Regions from separate parts of the Homo sapiens genome. Here all the other regions are linked to region 5. Evidence: promoter capture Hi-C in human tissues and cell types (Jung and others, 2019). All regions are on one chromosome and are shown on one strand. Each heading gives the region's core, a stretch centred on a gene start or on the middle of the fragment in contact. The rest is flanking DNA. Distances are from core to core; before and after follow the strand shown. Region 1 overlaps CPLX1 (complexin 1). Region 2 holds the start of LOC124900163 (chloride intracellular channel protein 6-like). Region 3 overlaps CTBP1 (C-terminal binding protein 1). Region 4 overlaps LOC124900647 (nascent polypeptide-associated complex subunit alpha, muscle-specific form-like). Region 5 holds the start of IDUA (alpha-L-iduronidase).

Region 1 (5,428 bases), core at 2,069-4,568, 190 kb before region 5:
ATCGGGGAGGGTGGGGTCAGGGCCGCGCGTTTCCAGCCCTGAGGCTCTTCCCGGGAACCCACCTCCCAGACCTTTGCTGGAGTGGCACCCACGCTCCCGAGACGCCCAGGCAGTTTCTGGGGGGATCTGCTTATACAGAGCAGCCGCCCCTGAGGTCAAAACCCTGCCCAGGGTTCCCTTACACGGTAAGTACAATGACAATGGCTGCATTCAATTTAGTATACGTTATACATAATGTATATGTAAATACTACATCCATTAAAGTTGATTTTTAAAGCTTCATTTTGAAATAATTGTAGATTTACGGAAGAGTCACAAAGATTGTATAAGAGGGCTCCCTAGACGCTGACATTGCAGCCACCGAGTGTTCGTCAAAGCTGAGACCTGGACATGGTACCAGCGACCACCCCACTGAAGACTTCATGTGGGCCTCACCACTTTTCCAGATCCGCCTCCCGGGTTCACGCAATTCCCTTGCCTCCGCCTCCTGAGTACCTGGGACTACAGGCACGCGCCACCACGCCTGGCTAATTTTTGTATTTTCAGTAGAGACGGGTTTCACCGTATTGGCCAGGGTGGTCTCGAACTCCTGACTGCCTGATCCGCCTGCCTCGGCCTCCTAAAGTGCTGGGATTACAGGCATGAGCCACTGCACCCAGCCCAATGTTAATTTTTAAGAATGGAAAAATGCTTTTTAACTTGAAATAAAACTACGGGGAAAATTATAGAATTGAATGAAAAATTAAACAATATCTAAATAAAGAAAGACACTTGTTATTTTTCTGGCCAGGGTAACTCCACACGTAAAGACGTCCATCCTCCCCAAACTCCGAAGAATTAAGAAGAAAATTCTGTGAAATCTGACAAGCTGAGTGTTGCATACAGACCTGCAAAAGGCCCATTTGCCAGGACAGACACCTGAAGGAAAAAGAGGAGAGTGAGGTCCACCAGATACCAAGACAGAATGATGATGGTGCAGTGGGAGGAAGACAGACAACGGGCCCAGAGTGGGGAGCCCATCCCCAGACCCCCACAGACACAGGACCCCCACGTGGGACCAGAGACAGAGGTGGAGGCTCAGGACCCTGGAGAAAGAATGCAGTATCCCCAGATGGGACAGGATACTTAATGGGAAAGAATAAAACTGGACCCCTGCACAACACACAGACACATTCTTATTGATTGTAGAACTAAACATGAATCCCAAATAAATGTAGGCAAAGAAAAACACAGTCCTTGCCACTCTCTGGCCCGTCACCAGCTGTATTTCCCTTTGTAGTTGTCCATTACCTGAAATGGTGCCATCTGTTGTTTGTTTGCTTCTGATTGCCAGTCTGCTAACAGAAAGCCCCATGGGAGCAGGCAGTCAGCTCGGAGCTGCAGCCCTGGCACCTAGAGCAGAGCCTGCCACACAGCAGGTGCTCAGCAAATAGTCTAGCTCTGTCGCCCAAGCTAGAGTGCAGTGGCAGGATCTCAGCTCACTGCAACCTCCACCTCACGGGTTCAAGTTATTCTCCTGCCTCAGCCTCCCAAGTAGCCAGGATTACAGGCGTCTGCCACCATGCCTAACTAATATTTGTATTTTTAATAGAGACGGGGTTTCACCGTGTTGGTCAGGCTGTTCTCGAACTCTTGACCTCCTGATCCACCCGCCTCGGCCTCCCAAAGTGCTGGGATTACAAGCGTGAGCCACTGAGCCTGGCCACAACCTGACTTTAAGACTTACTGTAGGCCGGGCGCGGTGGCTCACGCCTGTAATCCCAGCACTTTGGGAGGCCAAGACCGGCGGATCACGAGGTCAGGAGATCGAGACCATCCTGGCTAACACAATGAGACCCCGTCTCTACTAAAAATACAAAAAAGTAGCCGGGCATGGTGGCGGGCGCCTGTAGTCCCAGCTACTCGGGAGGCTGAGGCAGAATGGTGTGAACCCGGGAGGCGGAGCTTGCAGTGAGCCAAGATCGCGCCACTGGACTCCAGCCTGGGCAACAGAGCGAGACTCCGTCTCAAAAAAACAAAAAGACTTACTATAATCAAGGCACTATGGTATAAACAAAAGAACAGACATATAGGCCAGGCACAGTGGCTCACGCCTGTAATTCCAGTACTTTGGGAGGCCGAGGTGGGTGGATCACCTGAGCTCAGGAGTTCAAGACAAGCCTGATGGACATGGTGAAACCCCGTTTCTACTAAAAATGCAAAAATTAGCTGGGTGTGGTGGCGTGTGCCTGTAATCCCAGCTACTTGAGAGGCTGAGTCAGGAGAATCACTTGAACCCAAGAGGTGGAGGTTGCAGTGAGCCGAGATGGCACCACTGAACTCCAGCCTGGGTGACAGTGAGACTCCGTCTCAAAAAAAAAAAAAAAAAAAAGAACAGACATCTAGATCAATGGAAAGTATAGAAAGTCCAGAAATAGACCCATACATATATTGTCAATCGATTTTTGACAGAGCTGCAGAGGGAATTCAATGAGGGTGAGGATAGTCCTTACTTCTGTTTTCTTTTCTTAGACAGGGTCTTGCTCCGTTGCCCAGGCTGCAATGCAGAGGCTCAATCATAGCTCACTGCAGTCTCAACTTCCTGGGCTCAACTGATCCTCCCACCTCAGCCTCCCATGTGCCACCATGCCCAGCTAATTTTTTAAAAACATTTTTTGTAGAGACAAGGTCTCACTATGTTGCCCAGGTTGGTCTCGAACTCCTGGGCTCAAGTGATTTGCCTGCCTCAGCCTCCCGAAGTGCTGGGATTGCAGGCGTGAGCCACTGTGCCCGGCCAGATAGTGCTTTCAGAAGCGCACTGGCTCAATTCAATATCCATGTGCAAAATAAACACATATGTAAATGTTTTCCTTTACCTGACACTTTATATAAAAATGAACTCACAATCAATCATAGATCTAAATGTCAAAGCTGAAATTATACAACTTCTAGAAGAAAACAGAAGAGAAAATTTCTGGGACTTTGGCTTAAGCAAAGATTTCTTATATAAGTGACAAAAGCATAAATCTTAAAAAGAAAAATTGATAAACTGAATTTCATCAACATTAAACATTTTTGCTCTTCTGCGATATTATGAGATATATATATATGTTTTCATCTATGGCTCCTGCCTCTCACTCCCATGGCCCTTGTTATAATGTTGGGGCCCTTTAGAATCAGGAAACAGAACCCCTCTCTCTGACCTTCTGCCCTCTTTTCACCTGTGCAGGGCAGGACTCAAATCTTCCCCTGACTTCCTGTTGGTGAGTCATAAGCCCTCATTTCAGAAGGGGCCCTGCCCCGTGCCCTGGAGGAAGGAACGCTACAGAGAGAGGCCAAGAGGAATCTGGACAGGCCTTGCTGGGTTTAGATCACACCCTTTTCATCGGTCGCATTTCTACGGGGACGTCCATGCTTCTTCCACCATGCCTATCCGATGGAGTCTCCTCAAGAGGCGGGGTTCAGGAGCTTCCAGAGAGCTGGGCACATGGAGGCTGGAAGGAAGGCGAAGAACTCATCCACGTGCCAGGAGGGTAGCACCCCAGCTCCACGGGGTGGAAGCTCCTCAGAAGGGTGGCACCCCAACTCCACAGGGTGGAAGCTCCTATCCTTGGGACCCTTCAGGCCTGGCCATGTGTCTCTTCATCTGGCTATGTGTATCCTTGAAAATATCCTCTGTAGGCTGGGCATGGTGGCTCACACCTGTAATCCCAGCACTTTGGGAGGCCGAGATGGGCGGATCACCTGAGGTCTGGAGTTCGAGACCAGCCCAGTCAACATGGTGAAACCCCGTCTCTACTAAAAATACAAAAATTATCCAGGCATGGTGGCATGTGCCTGTAATCCCAGCTACTCAGTAGGCTGAGGCACAAGAATTGCTTGAACCCAGGAGGCAGAGGTTGCAGTGAGCCGAGATTGCACCATTGTACTTTAGCCTGAGCGACAGAGGCAGGCTCCGTCTCAAAAAATAAAAAATAAAAAGATCCTCTGTAATAAACCATAGGCATATGTTTCCCTGAATTCTGTGAGTTGCTCTAGGAATTAAACCCAAGAGGGGTCGCATGAACCCCAACTCGAAGCCGGTCGTTCAGACATTCTAGGGTCCTGGACTTGCGACTGGTGGGATGGAGGGGGCAGCCTTGTGGGACTGAGCCCTCAACGTGGGGTTTCTGAGGCTGTCTCCAGGTAGACAGCATCAGAATGGAATTGAATTGGAGAACACCCTGCTGTTGTCCACTGCCGGACTGACTGCTTGCTTGGTGGGTGGGGAAAACCTTCATACATTTGGTCACAGACATCTTCTGTGTTGATTATCCTTGTGGAGTGAGGGCAAAGGGAAAAACAGTTTGAGTTTTTCTTAACATCTTCAAAAGACACTGTCTTAAAAAATGAAAAGGTACACCACAGGCTGAGAGAATATATTTGCAAACCACACATCTGATAAAGATCTTAGGCCGGGCGCAGTGGCTCACGCCTGTAATCCCAGCACTTTGGGAGGCCAAGGCGGGCAGATGAATTGAGGTCAGGAGTTCGAGACCAGCCTGGGCAAAATGGGGAAATCCCATCTCTACTAAAAAATATATATATATATACACACACATATACACACACAGACACATATATGTGTATATACATACACACACATGTATGTATATATAAATATATGTGTGTGTGTGTGTATATATATGTATATATATATATATTAGCCAGACATGGTGACGGGCAACCGTAATCCCAGCACTTTGGGAGGCCAAGGCGGGCAGATGACTTGAGGTCAGGAGTTCGAGACCAGCCTGGGCAAAATGGGGAAACCCCGTCTCTACTAAAAAAAAAAATATATATATATATATATATACACACACATATACACACACAGACACATATATGTGTATATACATACACACACGTATGTATATATAAATATATGTGTGTGTGTGTGTATATATATGTATATATATATATATATATTAGCCAGACATGGTGACGGGCACCCGTAATCCCAGCTACTTGAGAGGCTGAGGCAGGAGAATTATTTGAACCCTGGAGGTGGAGGTTGCAGTGAGCCAAGATCGTGCCACTGCACTCTAGCCTGGGCGACAAGGCAAGACTCTGTCTCAAAAAAACAAAAGGTTGGCCGGACGCAGTGGCTCACACCTGTAATCCCAGCACTTTGGGAAGTCGAGGCGGGCAGATCACGAGGTCAGGAGATTGAGAATAGCCTGGCTAACATGGTGAAACCCCATCTCTACTAAAAAAAAAAAAAATGCAAAAATTAGGCAGGCGTGGTGGCACGTGCCTGCAGTCCCAGCTACTAGGGAGGCTGAGGCAGGAGAATTGCTTGAACCTGGGAGGTGGAGGTTGCAGTGAGCCGAGATCGGGCCACTGCACTCCAGTCTGGGTGACAGAGCGAGACTCTGTCTCAAAAGAAAAAAAAAAGTCTTATATTCAG
Region 2 (5,736 bases), core at 2,782-5,281, 200 kb before region 5:
TTCATCTAACTTTTTTGTTCTTTTTAAAACATTGTTTTATCTATCCTTTTTACTGTTTTAGCTAGCTCCTTCACCATTCTGTATACATTTTAAAATCATCTTTTCTAAATCTAAAAAGAGTCCTACTGCAATGTTTTGGAATTTTGTTAATTTCACAGATCCTTCTGAGACTGGCATCTTATGTTCAGTCTTCCAGTCTATGAGCGTGCTGTGTGCCGTCTCTCCACATACATAGTCTTTTTAGCATACAGATCCTGTTTTGTCTTGTTAGATTTATACCTCTCTCTCTCTCTCAGGAGCTACTGTGTTTTTAACTTCAGTTTCCAATGTTTTATTGTCTATAGAAGTAAGATTTTTTTTTTTTTTTTGAGACAGTCTGGCTCTGTTGCCCAGGCTGGAGTGCAGTGACATGATCTCGGCTCACTGCAACGTCTGCCTCACGGGTTCAAATGTGGCATGATCTCAGCTCACTGCAACCTCTGCCTCCCAGGTTCAAGCAATTCTCCTGTCTCAGCCTCCTGAGTAGCTGCGATTACAGGTGTGTGCCACCACACCCGGCTAATTTTTGTATTTTTAGTAGAGACAGGGTTTCACCATGTTGGTCAGGCTGATCTCCAACTCCTGACCTGGTGATACGCCTGCCTCAGCCTCCCAAAGAGCGTTGGGATTACAGGCATGAGCCACCACACCGGGTCTTTTATTTTTTTTGAGACAGAGTTCCACTCTTGTTGCTCAGGCTGGAGTGCAATGGTGCGATCTCGGCTCACTGCAGCCTCTGCTTCCCGGATTCAAGCGATTCTCCTGCCTCAGCCTCCTGAGTAGCTGGGATTACAGTGCCCGCCACCATGCCTGGATAGTTTTCCTATTTTTAGTAGACACAGGGTTTCACCATGTTGGTCAGCTGGTCTCAAACTCCTGACCTTAGGCCATCCACCAGCCTCGGCCTCAGCCTCCCAAAGTGCTGGGATTACAGGCATGAGCCACTGCACGCAGCCCTAAGATTAATTTGTATGTGTTACTGGTGAACATTCCAAACTCACTTACTGGCTCTACGAGGGTCTTTGTGGCAATCATTGCTGTTGCTTTAGATGAGTGTTCTCTATATAGACAATCATGTAGTCTGTGAATAAGGAAGTTTTATCTCACCTGTAATCCCAGCACTTTGGGAGGCTGAAGTGGGAAGATCACCTGAACCCAGGAGTTCAAGACCAGCCTGGGCAACATAGTGAGACCCCCCCGTATCGACTAAAAATACAAAAATTAGTCGGGCTGGTGGCACATGTCTGCAATCCCAGCTACTCTGGAGGCTGAGGCACATGCTCTCTGGAAGGAGGTGCCTGGGTGTGGCTCACCCTCCTCTTTTTCCCTGCTACCTAAAAGGAGGTCCCCAGGTGAAGCTCACTCACAACTCAGAAAGTTCAGGTCACCTCTGTGAGGGCATATCTGCATACACTATTTGGACTCGGCTGGATGTGCATGCCTCTGGTCCCAGCTACTTGGGAGGCTGAGGTGGGACAACTGCCTGAGCCCAGGAGGTCCAGGCTGCAGCAAGGCAACAGCGCACCATTGCACTCCAGCCTTCTGAATGACAGAGGAAGATCCTGCCTCAAAGAACAAATATTTGGACTCCTCCTGCATGGTCAATTGTCTCCTCTCTCCCATCTATTTATTAATTCAGTCTTTTATTTTGGAAATGGGATATTACTAGGCCTTGACTCCTGGGCTCAACTGATGCTCCCACCTCAGCCTCTGAGTAGCTGAACTACAGGTCCCACTCTGCCCAGCTCATTCAGTCACTTATTACATCAGCAAAGACTCATCGATATTTCTTCAGCCCTGTGCATTATAATCCAATGCTACTTTATTCTGCTATTCAAGTTATTCCAGCCTCGCCCATTGGGACCCCTTGTCGCTGTGTCCCTTTGGCCCACAGTTGTGGGTTGTTTTTTTTGTTTTTTTGAGATGGAGTTTCACTCTTGCTGCCCAGGCTGGACTGCAATTGTGTGATCTCAGCTCACATCAACCTCCATCTCTCAGGTTCAAGGGATTCTCCTGCCTCAGCTTCCCCAGTAGCTGGGATTACAGACATGCGCCACCACACCTGGCTAATTTTGTATTTTTAGTAAAGACGGGGTTTCTCCACGTTGGTCAGACTGGTTTCCAACTCGCAAACCTCAAGTGATCCGCCCGCCTCTGCCTCCCAAAGTGCTGGGATTATAGGTGTGAGCCACCGCGCCCAGCCTGTGTTGTTTTTTAAATCATTTCCAGGCTCATGGTGTATACCTTCTGCGCCAGTCCTAGGTGAATTTCTCCTGGTTGGTGAGTTTTCATTGTTTACCTCTGCTCACACAGGGACTCGAGGAGGGAGACTAGGACTCAGAGTCCTCCTTCATCTTGTCACTTCTCTAAACAATTACTTTTTGTTGAAGACGCCATGTAAGCTGGAATTCAAAGCCATCTCTTTGAACAACTGTGTGAAATAATCGTGCTAAACTGTTATTCTCCTTTAATCGTTCCAACCAAGCACCCACGGGGGCCATTATTCCTCTCCTACAACTGCAAGGCAGTGCCTCACCAACTAGCTTTGTTCCTGAGGCAAGCGGCAGGAACCCCTCTGCTTTCCTCAGTGAGCAAGCGGCCCCTGACCCTGGCGAGTGAGTTTTCTCTTCACAGCCCCCTGTCCCTGCTGCCCACTGAGCCAGCCAGCCCGAGGGTGGAAAAGTCATTCTGGCTCTAAGCTTCCAGCACAGTCCGGGAGACCACACGGGTCCTGGGGAGGGTGGCTAAGCCCGAGGGGCTTTATAGGATGAGTCACAAGAAAGTCCATCTGGTGGGCCCTCCCTGACTCCCCTCCACTGTCCCCGGCTCACGGCGAGGAAGGCAAGGCTGGTGGGGGGGACAGGAAAGGGCTGGGGTCTCTCCCCACCTCCACTGCCAACGCCCTGCAGACCCCCAGGCCACAGCCTTTCCCGGGGCTCCCCCAAGGTATGGGAGGTGGGGCGGGTCCAGTTTACGCTGGTTTCAAAGAAGTGAGAGCGCCCCGCCGCCATGTCATGGAGGGTCCCGCGCCCCCACCCCTTGCCTGGGGTCGTGTGTGGGCAGCCGCAGAAAGCGCCCCGACGGCAGGAGCGGGGTTCCAGGCTGAGACCGGGCCTCGGCGGCGCCCCTTCCTGCCGGGAGTGGCGCATCCCAGGACCCACAGACAAACAGGGCCAGCCAGGGTCACCCGGAGCGCGAAGGCCGGCTATGGGCTTAGGGTGGGGTCTGGTCCCTACGGCCGGCCTAGGGGGAACGCGGGACAGGAGAAGGTCTGGGAAAAACCTGCTTCCGAGGCCTCGGCTTCGGGGCGTCCTCCTGAGCTGGCGCCAGCCCGCAGCGGGGCCGGGCAGGGACGCCGGCCTAACGGTGGGGACCGGCAGGGCCTGGGGGCAGGACGAGACAAGCACACAACCGACGGGGCGGGGCCAGGCGAGGGCACGGGGCCGAAGAAGCTTCTGCCAGGCCCGAGACCCGCACTTAGTTACCTGAGAAGGCGGGAAGGTGCGGCCGCGGGGTGAGCGGCGGACTGACCCAGCTCCAGCGCCTCTGCAGAGGCTTGCAATGGCGTCTCTCGGGCTCTGATTGGTCAGGCCTCCACACGTGAGCCTCTAGGAGCCAATCATGTCGGCCCACCTAGCATGCGCTGATTGGCTCAGGCTGGCCAGGGGCGGGCGCGGTCCTTCCACGGCCCGGTCCCCGCTCCCTTCCCCAGGCCCGGAGGCCCCGCCCGAGCGGCTCCGCTGGGGGCGGTTCTGCTGGAGAGGACGGATCTGCTGGGGAGATGGATATCCTGGAGGGGCGGATCTACTCGGGGGGCGGGTCTGCTGGGAAGGCCGGATCTGCTGTGAGGGGCGGGTCTTCTGGAGGGGCCGATCTGCTGAGGGGGCCGGATCTGCTGCCTGACAGGGCTTCCTGGCCTGGGGAGGAGGCCGTGTCTGGAGCTTGAAAGCCGGCCCCGCTGTGTTCAAGATACAGTCAAACGTTCAGAAGGAGGAGACTCCGGGGGCAGGGTGGTGCCCAGCCAGTGCATGGGGCCAGGGCCACGCTGGTGGCACCCAGGCAGCGCTGCCTCCTGGCTCTCGAATGGCTGTTCTCTGCCCAGAATGCTCTCCCACGGGACACGCGCCTCCCTCCGGGTCTGTGCACGTCACTCTGACAGAGAGGCCCCCTGACCACTCATGAAATAGTAACCCTAACCATTGCTCTCTGCTCCCTGTCCTGCTTGATTTTCCTCCAGGGCAAACACCGCCACTTCCATGTTTATCATCTGTCCTCCATCACTAGGAAAACCAGTTCCAGGAGGGAGGGACTAGTATTCCCAGCCCCTAGAACAGAGCAGCGCATATCACAGGGGCTCAGTAAACATCTGGGGAGGAGTGCCATTCCCAGGAGGCCTCAGACCCCGTCACCTGAGATGAGAGCTGGATCCCGGAGAAGCTCAGGTCTGACCCAGCATTCATTGCTGTAGGAAGGGCTCGTCTAGACTCCAAGGGAGCCGGGTGCGGTGGCTCACGCCTGAAATCCCAGCACTTCGGAAGGCCGAGGCGGGCGGATCACCAGGTCAGGAGATCCAGACCATCCTGGCTAACACGGTGAAACCCCGTCTCTACTAAAAATACAAAAAATTAGCCGGGCGTGGTGGCGGGTGCCTGTAGTCCCAGCTACTCGGGAGGCTGAGGCAGGAGAATGGTGTGAACTTGGGAGCGGAGCTTGCAGTGAGCCGAGATCGCACCACTGCACTCCATCCTGGGGGACAGAGAGAGACTCTGTCTCAAAAAAAAAAGACTCCAAGGGAAAGCTGCCTGGGTCGTGACCTGGCACGTCCAAGTCGCTGCTTAGGCTTGCAAGGGGGTCCAGACCAGGCTGTGGATGGGAAATGGGAGGCTGGGGGAGGATGGAGGCTGAGCAGTGGCTGGATGTTGGGGTGCCCTGTTGAGGGGCAGCTGGCAGCAGCCACGGACACAGGGGTGGGTGCAAAGACACTGAGTTTCTGTTCCAGGAGGAAGGGGGGCCAGCTGGCAGAGGAGAGATCACCCTGGGCAATTTGGTGGTGCCTGGGGTGCACACTTCCCCAGAGGCAGCAGGAGGAGGAGCTGGATACACCCTTCCCTGGGCTTGGAGGAGAGCACGTTCCCTCCCAGCTCCCACCTGGCATCCAGGAGGGCCCGGCCTGGGGTCAGGGCACATGGGGCCCTCCTGCCCTGGGACTGGGCAGCTCCCTGGGGCATTCCCAGCCAGCAGCATCAGGAAGGTTACAGGAGACCCAGACATGCTGCTCCCTAGAGAGGGCTCCTGACAAAGATTTTTTGTGTGGTCAAACTTTAGTTAACTTCCTGAATCTTCTGGTAGGCCCATTGGCCCACTTCCTTGTAAAATGCAGTTTTAGCAAAGAATCTGGCTAAGTCAGTTTAGCAACAAACCTTCATCCTGGAGATCTGATTGGGGTCCTCATGCTTCACCACCCTATGGGTCTGTCTGATTGCCCTGCCTGTCTCCAGCTAGAATCCAGTTAGATGGGTTTCATCAGAATCCCCCAACCCCTGATGTTCCTCAGTCATTTTCCATCCACTGAGCCCACCCTGCTCCTTGGCACCCATGGCAAGCCCTGTTGCATGGTCCCTGTACCTGTAGTGCTGGTCCTGAATAAAGCCTTCCTCACTCAGCTGTAACAAGTGTCACGGGACCATCTTTTCTTTT
Region 3 (6,106 bases), core at 1-2,500, 250 kb after region 5:
GTGGTGGTACCTTCTCATGGATCTCCTGCGTGGACTGCGCGTCGCAGAAGGCCACAGTGGCCACGTCCTTCAGGATGGGCATCTCCACTGTGCAGTCCCGGCCATCCAGCAATGCCACCAGGGGCCGCGGGTGCAGGGGCCCGTTCATGATCGGAGGTCGGACGCCTGCAAGACAGAGGCAAGTGCTCAGCCTTGCACCACTGCGGCCCCGTGGCTACAACCCACTCCACGCCACCCACTGTGCACGGGCCAACGAGGGCCGACCGCCGGGGGTTTTCTGGTCTATATGTTGTGATATTTGTAAAAAGTAAATTAAAAATCCACGTGAAAGACAACTCGTGTGTGCCTCAGCTCGCTGACTCAAGTGGACACAGACTGTGGACACCCACTACCATCTCCCTTGGGCACAGGACCTCCGAGACCCTCCAAGTCCCCTCCGAGACCCTCCAAGGCCCCTCCGAGATCCTCCCAGACCCTCTGAGACCCTCTCACACCCTCCAAGACCCTCCGAGACCCCCCAAGAAATCTCCAGACCCTCTGAGAACCTCCCAGACCCTCTGAGACTCCCCAAGACATTTCCAGACCCACCGAGACACCTCCCGACCCTCCTAGGCCCTCCAAGACCCTCTGAGACCCCCCGAGACCCTCCCAGACCGTCCGAGACCCCAGGGCAGCTCCATGAGGCAGGGGGACAGGAGGGACCCAGGACACTGGAGGACACAAGATGACAGCACGGGACTTTGGGAACATGGTTGTCCCTTTCCTGCCTGGGCTACCGCGTGGCTGCCCGGAATCCCTGATGGGGTCACCAGTGTTTCACGTAGGACGCCCCCAACCCTCTGCCTGGCATTACTTCCAATTATAGATGTGAAGAGAAAAGAAACAGAACAAAGGAAGAAAAGGGTTAAAACCTGTTAAAGTCCACTCTGTGCCCCTGACCTTCCCAGAACCAGATGATTAAAGCTCATTAACACCCATTCCTTTCGCGTATGACGCAACTAAGCCTCATCGGGGCCAACTGGAGAAATAAGGGCTCTGAGGCGTCACAGAAGCATGGCAGCTTCCAGGCACCGCCCGACCGCCCCGTGCCAGGCAGGGAGCACCAGGTGGGGCCACTGTCAGCCCCACGGCAGCTGGGCAGAGGCGGAGCTGGGGCCAGGGCCCAGCCGGTCCCTCCCCTCCTCCTCCAAAGACCGGCCACAGGAGACCAAGCAGTACCCAGGACCGTTCGGCCAGCAGGAGGGGAGGCGCACGACAGAACCAAGGAGCAGAGTGACCCAGCAGGCTCTCCAGTGGCCGCGGCCACAAGCACGCTCGGCCCAGTCTCCCGCCCCATCCGCTGCCCCATCCGCCTGCAGGTGAGCAGAGGCCACCGAGCTGCCAGTATCCAGGAAGCAGGGAAGTGCCTCCTGGAACCCATGGCAGAGAAAAGAAATGCTCTGGTGGACAGCCCAGGGGTGCAGTGGGCCTGCAGCACACGCCTGCAGGGGACGGGGCATGGGTCTCCACTGACCACCCCAAAGCCGAGGGCTCCCAGTACGGCTGGGCCCATGCCCCTCCCGTGAGGTCCTCGCGCCCTGGCGTCCTCGGAGGAGCCACTGGCCATTCCACCCACTTTCCTTCAAGATAGGAAACCAGATCCCAAACGTGAGGTCTGCACGGTCAAAACCGCGTCCTGGTTCGCCTGTTCCTTCATTCCCTCTGGACGGGAGCTGCCCACGAGCACCATAGACAGGCCGCCCAGTGACACTGTACATGGCCTCCCTCTGCACGTGGCCTCCCTCCCCGCTGTGTGTGGTGGTGATGACTTCTCATGAGCAGAAAGGTTTATGTTGCTGTTTCTGAGTGAGTGGATAGACATCCGCTCTCAGTATCCTTGGATTTCACTTCTGATGAGGAAGGCATGGACACACGGGATCACTGCAGACCGCTCGGCTGCGTCAGAACCGCCTGGGGGGACTCCTGGGTGCTGGGTGAGTGGGAACCGGGTCCCTCGTCAGAACCGCGTGGGGGACTCCCGGGTGCTGGGTGAGTGGGAACCGGGTCCCTCGTCGGAACCGTGTGGGGCACTCCCGGGTGCTGGGTGAGTGGGACCGGGTCCCTCGTCGGAACCGCCTGGGGGGACTCCCGGGTGCTGGGTGAGTGGGAACCGGGTCCCTCGTCGGAACCGCGTGGGGGACTCCCGGGTGCTGGGTGAGTGGGAACCGGGTCCCTCGTCGGAACCGCGTGGGGGACTCCCGGGTGCTGGGTGAGTGGGAACCGGGTCCCTCGTCGGAACCGCGTGGGGGACTCCCGGGTGCTGGGTGAGTGGGAACCGGGTCCCTCGTCGGAACCGCGTGGGGGACTCCCGGGTGCTGGGTGAGTGGGAACCGGGTCCCTCGTCGGAACCGCGTGGGGGACTCCCGGGTGCTGGGTGAGTGGGAACCGGGTCCCTCGTCGGAACCGCGTGGGGGACTCCCGGGTGCTGGGTGAGTGGGAACCGGGTCCCTCAGCTGAACGGTGGGGAGGGGGGAGCAGGTGGAGACACCAAGCCCCATCAGGCTCAGGCACCCAAGGTGCCTCCTCACATCACCCATGAGCTGCCCCTGACCACCGTGCCAGGGTTCCCCGGACAGCCCACCCTTGCAGGCTTGGGGACACACCCAGGAGGCTTCACAGTCACACGGCCTGTGCTGAAGCAGGCTTTGCAGCATCCCCCAAGCCCAAGGCTGTTTCCGACTGCACGCACTTCCGGGCCAGAGAGCGCAGACCAACCACAAGGAACAGCTCCACAGGGGCCACGGCCCTGCTCCTGGGCCAGCCGGGTGGACACCTGAGATTTCCAGGGTTCCGTGTGGGGCTCCACCCTCGTGCTGGCGGCCTCCACATGGAGGCCCTCCGTGCCTCTCAGACACTTTCCGACAGAAACAGACAGCAGATGCCACGGACAGGCCTGACCACAGCTGTGCTCTGCCACCAGGTGTGCAGGAAGCCCTCCCTCGAGGGGCACCTGACCTCGCCCAGAGCACACCGGGGGTCAGGTGGCAGCAGTCCGGCCCGACGCCCATGCAGCCCAGGTCCCTCGACTTGATCCGAGGCAGTGCCTCCTCCACACGGTCGCAAAGAGACCGGCCGGCTTCACTCTGCCGCCGACGCCAGGAACCCCTACCAACCTGACATCTCTTAATATGGGCTCAGCTTCCACGACCATGAATTCGACTTTTCAAAGCTTTTTATCTTCAGGATCCCCAGGCAGAACCGCGTCCTGTCTCGGAGCCTCATCCCACGTCCTTAATTGTCTCGAGCCAAAGTGCTCAGGCTTCTGATCCGCGGCAATCACTGAAGCCTGCGTCGGGGTCAAAGTCTTACTAAAAATCAAACACAAGAGACACATTAAAATGCCATCGAAGGTCCGACCAGAACTCACAGACTCCAGGGAACGCCTCAGAAGTGGACCTCACTGCATCTGCCACACCCGGGACTGCTGTCTGGGACCTACCTGGACTCGGGGGCCTGCTGACAGCCAGGGGCCCCGGCTCCTGCCGCACACACGAAGGGCGCTCACCCTGAGGTTGCAGTGCCAGGCCCGAGGCCGCGCCCCTGTGGCCCCGAGGCCTACTCCTGGGAACAGTCCCCCAGGGCTGCGGCCACCCCCACAGGCTCTAGCCGCATCCAGATGTCCCCAGTGTCCAAGAACCAGGGGACGGAGGGCACAGGGTGTGTGCTGTGGGCAGGGAAACTGCGGAAAGGCTCTGCCTCCTGTTCTGGAAGCTTCTATCTCATGTCACTGATTCCCGGGCCTCTGTGACCAGGCAAGGACGTGGAACTTCCCAGGAGCCACCGGGAGAGGTGCTGCTGGCTTTCCAGCATCCAGCCTGGCACTGCCTGCACTGAGCCGCGCCGGCTCCACCTCCGACCCTCAGTGCATCCTGGCGACGCTCCCTCAATTCTCCCAAAAAAACTGCTCAGCTCTTCCTGACCGCTACGGCCAGGGCCTGGCGGGAAGCTGAGGGCACGAACCCCAGTGGCTGAATGCACAGGGGCAGGGGGCCCCTGAGAGGGCCAAGCCTTCCAGTAGAGGCTTGAGAGTGCACACGATCGCCCAGCCCTCGGGAGGGTGTCACTGAGCTGCCCACACCTGGCCCCTGCTCTGGCATGAAGACACAGCACCGAGGCTGACCCCAACGTGCAGCTGACATCAGGCTGACCAGGACAGGAGCCGGCCACCACCAGCCCAGCAGCATGGCAGGCGTGGGCTGAGACGACTGCCTGCCAGGCCAGAAGGGGCCACTCAGCCAAGCCTAAGACCCTGGTAGTGTGCTGTGAGGCCGCCCCTGCGCAGAGGCCTCGCAGACAAATCTCCAACCCTCAACTCCCTCTGCAGGATTCAAGCATACATGCCGACCATCTCCAGCTTCCAGAGACACCATCACAGGGGCTGGGGTGCAGCCCCACGCACGCACCTCCCATCCAGGGTCCCCAACACCACTCCTCATGGCAGGTGCTGTGTGGGACTCCCTGACGGAGGGCCCAAGAGCAACACTGTGGAGCGGGATCCCCATCACCTGCGCCTGAGCCCCCATGACCTGCGCTGCAGCCTCCTGCCCTGAATGCCAGATCTCCCCATGGTACCCGGATACCACATAAAAACAAACTAAAAGGACAGGAGAAAACCGCCTAAATGTCACATTTCACCCACGAGCCAGCCTGGCCAGGGGGCAAGGCACCGCGCCACCCACGCCCAGCCAAACTCATCAATGCCAGCCGATACTCATCAACGCCAGCCGATACTCATCAATGCCAGCCGATACTCATCAACGCCAACCGATACTCATCAATGCCAGCCAATACTCATCAATACTGGCCAAACTCATTGATACGGGCCAATACTCATTGATACCGGCTGATACTCATTGATACCAGTCAATACTCATCAATGCTACCCACGGTGGCCCAGTACCGGCTGCTGCTCGTCAAGACCGGCCAATACTCAATACTGCCCACAGCAGCATGGCACCAGCCGCTGCTCCTGGAGGATCATCGATACCCATCAATGCTGCTCAATGCTTATCTATACTGGCCAGTACGTGCCCACACCTGTGTCTCTGAGGAAGAAGCAGATGTGTGAAGGCCACCCTGGCCCTCCTGAAAGGACCCTGCAGTGAGGAGGCCGTGAGCTCCCGAGCTGAGGAACCTGTGGCAGGGCTCCTGGGGCCCTGCACTCCCTGGGCTAGCCCTGCCAGACCTGAGGGGCTGCACCCCATGCCACAGGGACTTCCTGTGGTTCCTTGTTCCAAGGCTGCTCCAGTTCAGGACAGACACCTGAGGCCCAGCACCTGGTTCTCCTCCAGGGACCTCTGTCTCAGAAACAGCCCTGGGGTAGGTCTGCCCACCATCTGCACCACCCTGGGGCCACTGTGCACCCACAAAGCGCCCCCTGCCGGGCCACACCTGCCCCACTGAGAGCCAGTGTCCGAGTCCTGGAGCCCTCACCTAGGGCAATGCCAGAGGCCCTGCGCACCTCACGCCAGGGAGCTGGCCTCCTACGGCCTTCCTGGCTGGCCGGTCAGGGTCAAGGGCTCCAGCTCTGTACCTTGCCCACACACTCCGAGGTGAAGGCACACGGCTCCCAGAGGGGCCTGTGCTGTCCAAATCCAGGACCCACACTGCTTTTCCTCATCAAAAACTCACAGCCGCACACGGCTCTCAGCCCAGCGACACGAGGACAGTCTCCAGCTTCTCACCCTGCAGACGCTTAACCTCATGTTGTAAGAAAGCACTCAAGGGACCCACGAGGGAAGTGAGTGTAGAGCACATGGAAGCTTGTGCTTCCTATTTTCCTGTAAATCTAAGACTGCTCTAAAACAAAAACTGATTTTAAAGTAAATGGGGGTGAGGTGAGGGGCAGCAGCCCCCAGGTTCTCTGGAGGCATCAAGTCCCGGGGGGCTGCACGGTGGCGGCCCGATGACCCCAGAGCCTCCTGGCCACATGTCAACGCCCTGTCTCTGGATGCACATCACCATCTGCTTGCCGGATCCTCCCTCCTGTTGGCCACGCCTGCCCACTCCGCCCCGATCCACGTGTGTGCTGGGCATCGGTCCATTCTGGTCTGGAGAGGGACCGGGT
Region 4 (5,360 bases), core at 807-3,306, 140 kb after region 5:
CTTTCCAAAGCAGAAAGCACCAGGCCCAGATGGGTTCACTGGTGAATTCTAACAAACATTTAAGGAAGAAATTGTGCCAGTTCTCTACAATCTCTTCCAGAAGATAGACACAGAAGGAATACTTCCTGATTCATTTTATGAGGCCAGCATTACCCTAATACCAAAACCAGACAAAGACATTATAAGAAAACTACTGATCATTATATCTCATGAAGATAGATGCAAAAACCCTTAACAAAATATTAGCAAATGAAAATCCAACAATATGTAAAAAGAATTATATACCACAACCAAATGGGTCTTATTACAGATATGCAAGACTGGTTTAACATCAGAAATCAATTAGTGTAATTCATCACATCAATAGGTGAAAGAAGGAAAAATCATACCATCATATCAATAGATGCAGAAAAAACATTTAACAACAGCCAACACCCATTTATGATAAAAATGCATCAAACTAGGAATACAGGGGAACTTAATTTGATGAAGAACATCTACAAAAAACCTATAGCTAATACACTTACTGGTCAGAAACTAGAAACCTTTTCTTGGTGGACTGGAAGTCCTAGCTAATGCAGTAGAAGGAAATAAAGAGTTTGGGAAGGAAGAAATAAGCTGTCTTTGTTCACAGGTGACATGACTGTTTATGTATAAACCCAAAAGAATTGACAAACTGCCAGAACTAGTAAGTGATTATAGTAAGGTTGCAGGATACAAGATGAATATAAGAAAGTGAATCACTTTCCTATATACTAACAATGAACAAGTGGAATGTGAAATAAAAAGCACAGTATCATTTACATTAGCACGCTCCCTCAAATTACTTATTTATAAACCTAACAATATGTGCAAGACCTATATGAGGAAAACAAAACTGGTGAAAGAAATGGAGAGAAGTCCATGTTCATAGATAAGAAGACTTATTATTGTCAAAATCTCAGTTCTTCCCAACTTGTTCTATAGATTCAACAGAATCCCAATACAATTCTAGCAAACTATTTTGTGAATATTGACAAGCTGATTCTAATATTTATATGGAGAAACAGAAGACCCACAATAGCCAACACAATATTGAGGGAGAAGAATAAAAGAGGACTGAGACTAACCAACCTTAAGATTTACTGTGAAGCTACAGTAATCAAGACAGTGTGATATTGGTGAAAGAATAGACAAATAGATCAATGGAACAGAATAGAGAGTTCAGATGTTGTTTCAGGCAATTTCGATTTTCAAAGAATGAGTCTTCTATGTGTTTTAAAAAAAACAGTGAATGGGTTTTAATGTGATAGTTTTTGGCCCAACTAAAATTTGGCTCTGGGTTTAATGTGCTTTGGAGACATTTTCAGATGGTCATTAAGGATTATTGGGAAAGTATAGAATTGGGGTTTGATATAACAAGGAACAGAAAGTATGGGCTAGAAGCATAGATGTGGGTGTGTAGGGAGGAGAGGGTAGCTGTCTTGACAAGTGGCTGGAGCTAGGAAAACAGTCCCAGTGGAATTATTGTCAGTGAGGTGCCAAATGTGCCGAGAGATAACTATTGAACAGGTGAAAATCAAGTGTCCAAAAATCCAACTGGATTGGAGTCTTCAGCACAGCTCTCTGTCTCCACATAAGTGGGGGTGTCACAGTGTCTTCCTGAGCTTGGGCCAACCAGTTATCCAGTTTCATGAGAATGGGAGTCCTGTCCTGCCTACTTCAAGCACCCTTTTCTTGCCAGCCAGAAAGAGGCCTATTCTATTCTACAAGTCTTTGGTCCACCACCATTCTGCTACCCCATGAGCACAGCTCCAGGACTAGATTTGAGTTAGTGGGCTGAGAAATTCATTGTCTTGAGCTTACATGGTGGGGGATGGATATCTCTGTTATATCCATTGTATATATGAGAAAACAGCATCAAAGCAGTCAAATAACCCGTCCAAGGTTTTAGCTTATATGTGACAATCCATGCTTGAGTTTGATTCTGACTCCAAAATCCATATTCTTTCCACATTTCCTGGTGACTTTTGTACTCCTCTGCTAACTCCTGGTGAGTAAGAGGTATGTAAGACCAGACAGTCCCAGAGGCTGCTGCATTATTAGAGAACGCCTATGCCAAAATGGGAGGAGGGAGGAGTTGGCTTATCTGACCCTTGTGCTTGGGTGGGGCTGCAGCACCAGCAAAGTAGATGGGGCCTGGTTGGTGTAAAACCACAGGATGCTTTGGCCTTAAGGTCCCTTTTGCCTAGCAAGATCGGCAAACCTGAAGATGACAAATCTGGGAATCCTCATTTCATTTTTTAAAAGCTTTTTGTATTATGAAGCCTGTCTCTGCTTCTCAACTAAACTATAGGCTCATTGAGGGCAGGCACTTTCTATGTTTTTATGTCATGCTATCATTCAGTGCTATATGCATTAAAAATTGTTAATTCTGGTTAGTGAGTGCTTCTGTAGAGATTTTAAAACTGGGCTACATGATGCCTGAATTTCTGGCAAATGAAAAATTTTAGTAACAAAGTATAAAAGAATGTTTTACCTCATCATTGTAAGTTGTAATAGTCACAAACATTCCCAAACCAGGAGCAGATTCAAGGAACGTATGTCTGCCTATGTCCCATTGCTGTATCTTGAAAGTCCCTGTTTCAAAAATGTAAGACATTACAACATGTAAGAAACAGTAATAATGTTTATTAGATGTTACTGTTAAATTAAATGAATTTATCTTTCTCAGTTTACCTAAATCGTAAAACACTCTTAGTCTGAACAGCTATAGCTTGGTGATTAGGTATCTAACAGAGTAGAGGACTCTGGAGTATAGAGGAAGACTTGAGTTCTTCATTTCTCACTCTCGTTTACTAGGTAACTTGACAAATTATTTCACCACTCCAAGCCTCCATTTCCTATTCAGAAAAATAGGGGTAATATAGATCCCTCTCAGATCTCAGTTGTGAGAACTGCCGAAAATAAGCCTATGAAAGGTTTCCACCTAGAATGTAAACTCCATGTGAGCTGCCACTAAGAGATGGAACTCTTGGACCTTTTCCGAAACCTCCCCAGTAGTTCTCCCTGCTTTAACTTCTTTCTCCTGTAACTTGATCCCATACACTTCCAGCAGAATTCCTTGCTAAAATATCAGTGTAGTCATGTCAAATCTTTCGTTTCATTGTCTCCAGAGGTTTCTGCTGAAGGTTGGATCTGAAGGAGTCTCTGGCTATCTCCCATTAGTATGTGTTAGCTATCATATGACTTAACTTCCCTCATGTGCCCTTGAAAGGTACAGTGGGAATGAAAACCAGGTAACATTTGTTGGACCCATATTATGCGCCAGGCACTGTGCTAAACACTTAACATGCATCACTCTTGTATAGATTTATGTAACTATAATATGTGCTTATAAAGTACAAATATTATAAAATTTTATAAAAGTGGGAGAAAAGGCACTACACTGTCTGGGTTTGAATCCTGACTCTACTGCTTGCTAGCTATGTGGGCAAATTAATTTTTCTATACTTTAGTTTCATTATATCTAAAATCGTTATAAAAGTAGTATTTACCAGCTGAGCACGGCGGCTCATGCCTGTAATCCCAGCACTTGGGGAGGCTGAGGCAGGCAGATCACTTGAGGCCAGGAGTTTGAGACCAGCTTGGCCAACATCGCGAAACCTCATCTCTACTAAATATACAAAAACTAGCCGGGCGTGGTGGCGCATGCCTGTAATCTCAGCTACTCAGGAGGCTGAGGCATGAGAACCGCTTGAAGTGGGAGGCAGAGGCTGCAGTGAGCTAAGATCGTGCCACTGCACTCCAGCCTGGGTGACAGAGGAAGACTCTGTCTCAAAAAGAAAAAAAAAGTAGTATTTACCTATGTAGGGTTATTGTCATGAAGAGTCAGATGTTTGTAAATTGCTCCATTAGAATGGTGCTTGACATAGCACTGAATAAATGTGTTATATGTAAATATATATAGATAACACGTATAAATTATACATATATACAGTTGTGCCTCAGTATCCATGAGGGATTGGTTCCAGGATGTCCTCAGGACACCAAAATCCACAGATGCGCAAGTTCCTTATACTAAATGGCATAGTATTTGCATATAACCTATGCACATCCTCCCATATACTTTAAATAATCACTAGATTACTTATAATGCCTAGTACTTAAATGCTGTGTAAATAGTTGTTATACTGTATTGGGTTTTTATTTGTATTTTTATTTTTGTATTGTTATTTCTTATTATTTTTTCCCAAATATTTTCCATTTGCATTTGGCTGAATCTGCCAATGCAGAATTTGTGGATATGGAGGGCCCGCTGTATACACTCACACACTTTTTAGTAACCGAGGTGATTTTTCCCTTACTACCACATTATGTTATCTCCATCTGGAGAAAGGAAATTCCGTGCAGGGACATATGCAAAAGTCCTGAGGGCAGGAGGATGCTTGGAATATTCAAGGAGCAGCAGAATGGCTGGAGTGAGGTTAGCAGGGAAAGAATGGTAGGAGGTGGGGTTGAAAAGATAGCAGGGGCCAGATCATAGAGAGTCCCGATGTCCATTGTAAGGATTTGGGGAAGCAATTGGGTAGAGAAGTGACATGATGTGACTTTCCTTTTAAGTTTCTTATTGTTTCTGTTATGTGGAGAAAAGGATGAAGAAGGGTCAAGGGTGGAAGCAGTGACACTATTGTAATCTAAGTGGCTTAGACTATGTGATTATAGTAGAGGTTGTAAAAAGTTGTTGGTTTCTGTACTATTGTATTTTTTTAATTTTATTATTATACTTTAAGTTTTAGGGTACATGTGCACAACGTGCAGGTTTGTTACATATGTATACATGTGCCATGTTGGTGTGCTGCACCCATTAATTCGTCATTTAGCATTAGGTATATCTCCTAATGCTATCCCTCCCCCCTCCCCCCACACCACAACAGTCCCTGGTGTGTGATGTTCCCCTTCCTGTGTCCATGTGTTCTCATTGTTCAATTCCCACCTATGAGTGAGAATATGCGGTGTTTGGTTTTTTTTCCTTGCGATAGTTTGCTGAGAATGATGGTTTCCAGTTTCATCCATGTCCCTACAAAGGACATGAACTCATCCTTTTTTATGGCTGCATAGTATTCCATGGTGTATATGTGCCACATTTTCTTAATCCGGTCTATCGTTGTTGGATATTTGGGTTGGTTCCAAGTCTTTGCTATTGTGAATAGTGCTGCAATAAACATGTGTGCATGTGTCTTTATAGCAGCATGTTTTATAATCCTTTGGGTATATACCCAGTAATGGGATGGCTGGGTCAAATGGTATTGCTAGTTTTAGATCCCTGAGGAATAGCCACACTGACTTCCACAATGGTTGAACTAGTTTACAGTCCCACC
Region 5 (5,334 bases), core at 2,785-5,284:
ACAGGCGCGGGCCTGGACAGGACGGAGGGCGTCTTCAGGAGGCTCTCCTCCCCTCTCACTTCACTTTTCCCATACAGCACCTGTGCCACTCTTGCTGTAAATCCTAATTCCCCAGAAATATGTGAAACCCTGTAACATGATTGTTTTATGCGGTTACGATTCATTAGGTTTATACACAATATACCGTTTCTGTTGCTTTTGTTGGGGTTCAGAAAATGTCACCCAGAGTGAAGGCCTTGGAAGCCAGGCCTTCTCCTGCCTCCTGTCTCTGGCCCCTCATTGTCCCAGGCAGGTCGTAGAAACCTAAGCCCCTTTTCCCCAAAGCCAGCCATAAACCTAAAAGTATGACTCTAATAACTTTTCTCTGTCTTTCTGTGTAAAAACTGGCCATAAAGGAATTCTCTGGCCTGCCTTGTTTGACTGTATGTGGTCAGACCCCTATTCCGGGGCGTTGTGCCCCCACCCAGCAGGAGGGAGAGCTGCAGAGAGAGGCCTCCAGGAACCGAAGCAGATGGGCCTCGCTGGGCTCCCCCAGGAGTCTGTTAGCCTGTCAGGTCTTAACCTTTCGTCCAATCCTATTTCCAGATTCACAGAACCTGAGTATAAAAATGTGGTTTCCCCTGCGCCTTTAGGTCTTTGCTCTGAAAGCTGCTGTGTCACATAAAACTACAATCCAAGAAATCTGTGTACCCTTTTAGTGAAACTTCAGAAAGGCAGGGGAGGTTTTCCCTTCCCCCCGCACTCTTCACTTCTTCCTCTGCACCTCTGAGCTGGGATTTGGGACATCATTCTTTCTACTTGAAGAACACCATTTAATTTTGTCTTTTCTTTTTGAAACAGGGTCTCACTCTGTTGCCCAGGCTGGAGTGCAGTGACGTGATCTTGGTTCACTGCAGCCTCTGCCTCCCAGGTTAAAGCAATTCTCCTGCCTCAGCCTCCTGAGTAGCTGGGATTACAGACGCATGCCACCACGCCCGGCTAATTTTTGTATTTTTGGTAGAGACAGGGTTTCACCATGTTGGCCAGGCTGGTCTCGAACTCCTGACCTCAGGTGATCTGCCCGCCTCAGCCTCCCAAAGTGCTGGGATTACAGGCATGAGCCACCTTGCTCAGCCTAGTTGGATTTAATTTGCTGTTAAACCAATTCGTTATCAGCTTTACTGAGATATGATTTACATACAATAAAATGAAGCAAGTTCAAGTGTATCATTCAATAAATTTTTACTAAGTTTCATGAGGTTTTAATATTTTTTTCAATGTTTTCATTTTGAAAAATTTCAAACTCACAGAAAAGTTGCAATAACAGTATATAGTTTTCACCCAGGTTCACCAACTGTTAATATTTTGCTACCTTTGCTTTTATCTCAGTCTCTGTATGTAATCTAAATTTATTGTTTTGCTTTAATTTCCAGAGCAACTTTGGTTACAAATCTATTGATTCTTCACCTCTAAACCCTTCAGCATGGATCACAAATGAACAAAAAATCTCCATTCACAACCGTGATGCAATCATTGAGTCGTTTAATAATTCTGGAGTTTGACCCAGCGCGGTGGCTCATGCCTATAATCCCAGCACTTTGGGAGGCCGAGACAGGTGGATCATTCGAGGTCAGGAGGTCGAGACCAGCCTGGCCAGGATGGTAAAACGCTGTCTCTACTGAAAATACAAAAATTGGCTGGGCGTGGTGGCTCATGCCTGTAATCCCAGCTACTCAGGAGGCTGAGGCAGAGGTTGCAATGAGCTGAGATCGCACCACTGCACTCCAGCCTGGACAACAGAGTGAGACTTCGTTTAAAAAAACAAAAAACAAAAACAAAAAAAATTCTGGAGTTTATCATTGGTAGAATTTTGTTGCACAATGTACAAGGCATATTCCAAATTGTGAATGTCCCCATCATGCACTTTGTAATAATTTTTCCTGACCCGGATCCATTCCAGCACCGTGCAGTGAGGACTTCTGTCTGTTTTTGTTTTGTTTTACCTTCCTCCAGGGAAGGTGTACTTTTCTGTCCACAGGTGTCCCGGTGAGCGGCTCACCTTAATTCTCTCAGGGCTTGAGGTGATTTAAGGCTGGCTTCAGTCCCCACAAAGACAATTCTGTTGCTGGTTTACCTTTGCTTTTAGGGGATAGAACTTTGGGGTCCCAAGAAAAACCCAAAGTCTTTACCAGGCCCCCCGCCTGAGCCTCGACTTCTGTCCTGTGGCCACAGTGTGAGGAACGAACGCAGCAGCGTGTCGCCATGTCTTGTGTGGCTGGGATACGCTGCAGGGGTGTGGAGTCGCCGCCCCAAAGCGGGCCCCGCCCCCTCCCGGCTTGTCCCTGCAGAGCCCCGAGGCCTCAGAGGCTCCTCAGAGCTCCCAGTGCCCTGGACGGTTCCGTTCAGCGCTCTCCAGTTCTGATGGTTGCTCTCAGGAGGCGGCTGGTCTGAAACAATTCAGTTTCCATTGCTGTGTCCTGCACCACGGTGTGGGACTGGTGGTTTCTTACTGTTTTTCTCAGTTCTCTGACGCTTTGAGGAATTGTTTTTAAAGCGAGTTATCCATCATTTTAGTTGTTTTCTCTGGGGTCGTTGGACTGAGGGTCTTACCCCGCTGTTCCTGGAGACAGTTCTGTACTTGCATGGTTTCTCTCGCCTTTCCCTCCCTTTCTTACTTTTTAGTTTCTTAATGAATTTTTTTGTATTATGTTTTTCCTCCTTGCTAATTTGGAATATATACACACTATTTCACTTTTAAATGGCTAATCACTTTTAATGCAATTTCAACATAAGAAGACCTAATGTTAAGCAATATTTTAACCCCTCTCCCCAAAATAAAAAGACCCAGAACACTGTAACTCTAATTATCCTTCTCCCAACTTAGAGAGGATTATTGTCCAGTATTTTCGTTTTGTTAGTAGACTGTTCTTTTTTTCTTTTCTTTTTTTAGAGATGGGGTCTCATTTTGTCAACCAGGCTGGAATGTAGTGGTGTGATCATGGCCCGTCTCAGCCTTGAACTCCTAAGCTCAAGCAATCTCCCACCTCAATTTCGTGGGTAGCTGGGCCTCACAGGCATATACCATCGCATCTGGCTAAATTTTTTTTTTGTACAGATGGGGTCTTGGTACATCTCCCAGGCCGATTTCAAACTCCAGGCCTCAAGTGATCCTCCCGTGTTGGCCTGCAATTCCAAAGTGCTGGGATTGCAGGTGTGAGCCACCGCACCAAGCCTGTTCTTTCCATTATTATTTTTATACAATGTTTGCTTGGATTCACACATGCATACATGGACTACACATGTACTACAGTTGTCCCATGGTATCCTCGGGGTATTGGTTCCAGGACCCTCCCAGATACCAAAATTTGCAGGTGCTCAAGTACTTGATATAAAATGGCACAGTATTTGCACATTACCTACGCACATCCTACTGTGTAGTTTAAATCAAGATTACTTATAGTCCCTAAAACAATGTAAATGCTCTGTAAATAGCTGTTATACTGTATTGTTTTAAAATATGTATTATTTCGTATTGCTTTGGCTTTAAAACAATATTTTCAGTCTGCTTGGTTGAATCCATGGATCTGAAGCCAAGTGTAAGGAGGGCCCAGTGTGCTCTTCTGGGGTAATTCTCCTTCCTGCTAAAGCGCACGCTTTACTCAGGAGGCTGGGGTGAGAAAATCGCTGAAGCCCCGGAGATGGAGGTTGCAGTGAGCTGAGATCGCGCCACTGCACCTCAGCCTGGGCGACAAAGCAAGACTCTGTCTCAAAAACACACAAAAACAGAGAAAAACAAGACAGTAATGGCTCAACTCACATAGCACCAACGGGCGAAGCGTTCTTCTGAGCGCTTTCCGAGTCATCGGTCCTCAGAGCAGCCCCTGAGGCCCGCAAGGAAGCGGGGCTCCAAGCCCTGCCGTGCTCCCGGCTCCCCGAGGCTCCCCGAGGCCACCCAACCCCTCCCACCCGGCCATCGCCCCCTCACCAAGGCCCCGCCCCGCGGCGGCGGTCACATGGGGTGCGCGCCCAGACTCCGACCCGGAGGCGGAACCGGCAGTGCAGCCCGAAGCCCCGCAGTCCCCGAGCACGCGTGGCCATGCGTCCCCTGCGCCCCCGCGCCGCGCTGCTGGCGCTCCTGGCCTCGCTCCTGGCCGCGCCCCCGGTGGCCCCGGCCGAGGCCCCGCACCTGGTGCATGTGGACGCGGCCCGCGCGCTGTGGCCCCTGCGGCGCTTCTGGAGGAGCACAGGCTTCTGGTGAGCGCTCCGCGGCCTCCGGGACCCCCTGGCCGCACGGGGAGAGCTCGGGCGCCCCCTGACTGCGCACTGTGAGAGCTTCAGAGACCGGAGCTCCCTCCTCTGGGGCCCTGGCTCTCCCGGGCCCGCCCCCCGCCGTGTTTGTGGGTGGGTCCTCCACCTGAGTGGGCGCCGGGGCGTGAGCCTGGGCCGCCCCCTGCAGCCCAGGCCGATGCCCGGGATCCTGCTCTTTGAGGTAAACCAGGAGTCTCCCCTGGGAGTGGACGGCCCTGCAGCGGGACCTGGCCTGCCTGTCCCATTCCTTCCACCTAGAGCTGAGGTACCCGCCTTCCTGGCAGGGCCAGGGCCAGGGCTGGCGTTGGCCCCTCGTCTTACTGCTGCTGCCGTTCCCCATGAAGATGGGACCTCCCCACATTCCTGGCCCTAAGGGTCATTTTATTAGTCACTGAACGCACGGGCAGCGCCTGGATCCTGCGCCCGGGCAGTCCTGGGCTTGAACGTGTGTGTCAGCCGCGCTGCCAGCCATGCTGAGGCTCGGGACTGAGCCGCCCCTTTGTTGTCCCCAGCCCCCCGCTGCCACACAGCCAGGCTGACCAGTACGTCCTCAGCTGGGACCAGCAGCTCAACCTCGCCTATGTGGGCGCCGTCCCTCACCGCGGCATCAAGCAGGTCCGGACCCACTGGCTGCTGGAGCTTGTCACCACCAGGTGGGCGGCGGGCAGGGTCTGGGCGTCCCAGAGCCCCTTACAGAGGCACAGATGGGAGGGGAGGGCTGGGGGCTGCTCGGAAGACCCCTTGTTCCCCCACCTCCCGCCGAAGCACCCTGTTGGGGAGAGCGTGTCCTTGCTGGCTGTGCTGGGGTGAGGGCTGTGTGCTGGAGGGAGCCCCTGCATGGGGCACGGTGGGCTTCCTGCAGGTCTCCCTGCAGGCTCAGGGTTGGCTGCGCCGCACCTGGCTCCTGGTGCACCCGTGAGCATCCCTGTGTGTGTCTGCTGGCCAGGCTGGGTAGGGCCACTGCACCTGAGGGCTGAGCTGAGGTCTCATCGGTCACAGCACCCTGGGCCCTGACGCTGGTGCAGGTGGCCACCCTGTGAGGGGGAG

The links. Contacts are between HindIII fragments. The study calls those that stand out against the background at their distance.
Region 1: a contact is called between a fragment that was not itself captured here and the fragment with the promoter of IDUA in region 5, in 1 of the 25 tissues and cell types used here (spleen).
Region 2: a contact is called between a fragment that was not itself captured here and the fragment with the promoter of IDUA in region 5, in 3 of the 25 tissues and cell types used here (dorsolateral prefrontal cortex, lymphoblastoid cells and spleen).
Region 3: a contact is called between a fragment that was not itself captured here and the fragment with the promoter of IDUA in region 5, in 1 of the 25 tissues and cell types used here (dorsolateral prefrontal cortex).
Region 4: a contact is called between a fragment that was not itself captured here and the fragment with the promoter of IDUA in region 5, in 1 of the 25 tissues and cell types used here (dorsolateral prefrontal cortex).

Annotation. Positions count from the first base shown.
Region 1 is chr4:795,922-801,349 of GRCh38, forward strand. All of the region lies in intron 2 of CPLX1 (complexin 1), which reads right to left. It overlaps LOC105374339 (a long non-coding RNA gene), which reads left to right. Exons shown (of 4, transcript XR_925032.4): 3 at 1-185; 4 at 300-1,228. Among named protein-coding and RNA genes, the nearest start is that of PCGF3-AS1, 17 kb to the left of the region's middle. RefSeq lists enhancers at 3,315-3,514, 3,550-4,049. The HindIII fragment of the contact is 7,050 bases long and covers 1-5,428 here.
Region 2 is chr4:778,248-783,983 of GRCh38, forward strand. LOC124900163 (chloride intracellular channel protein 6-like) reads right to left here and starts at 3,601. Exons shown (of 2, transcript XM_047416474.1): 1 at 3,525-3,601. PCGF3-AS1 (PCGF3 antisense RNA 1) reads right to left here and starts at 3,602. Exons shown (of 3, transcript NR_171661.1): 1 at 3,525-3,602. RefSeq lists enhancers at 2,717-3,434, 3,435-4,151, 4,152-4,869 and silencers at 3,361-3,440, 3,541-3,890. The HindIII fragment of the contact is 6,790 bases long and covers 637-5,736 here.
Region 3 is chr4:1,238,173-1,244,278 of GRCh38, forward strand. It overlaps CTBP1 (C-terminal binding protein 1), which reads right to left. Exons shown (of 10, transcript NM_001012614.2): 2 at 3,153-3,347; 3 at 11-165. The coding sequence starts at 3,159. Among named protein-coding and RNA genes, the nearest start is that of CTBP1, 7.9 kb to the right of the region's middle. RefSeq lists an enhancer at 1,804-2,304. The HindIII fragment of the contact is 7,049 bases long and covers 1-4,775 here.
Region 4 is chr4:1,120,600-1,125,959 of GRCh38, forward strand. All of the region lies in intron 1 of LOC124900647 (nascent polypeptide-associated complex subunit alpha, muscle-specific form-like), which reads left to right. The region is part of intron 1 of LOC105374344 (a long non-coding RNA gene); the gene reads left to right. It also overlaps the pseudogene TMED11P. Among named protein-coding and RNA genes, the nearest start is that of RNF212, 9.7 kb to the left of the region's middle. The HindIII fragment of the contact is 4,762 bases long and covers 1-4,437 here.
Region 5 is chr4:983,010-988,343 of GRCh38, forward strand. It overlaps IDUA (alpha-L-iduronidase), which reads left to right and starts at 4,035. Exons shown (of 14, transcript NM_000203.5): 1 at 4,035-4,233; 2 at 4,800-4,940. The coding sequence starts at 4,076. It overlaps SLC26A1 (solute carrier family 26 member 1), which reads right to left. Exons shown (of 3, transcript NM_022042.4): 3 at 4,648-5,334. RefSeq lists enhancers at 2,397-2,446, 3,622-3,681 and silencers at 3,892-4,541, 4,324-4,501. The HindIII fragment of the contact is 27,782 bases long and covers 548-5,334 here.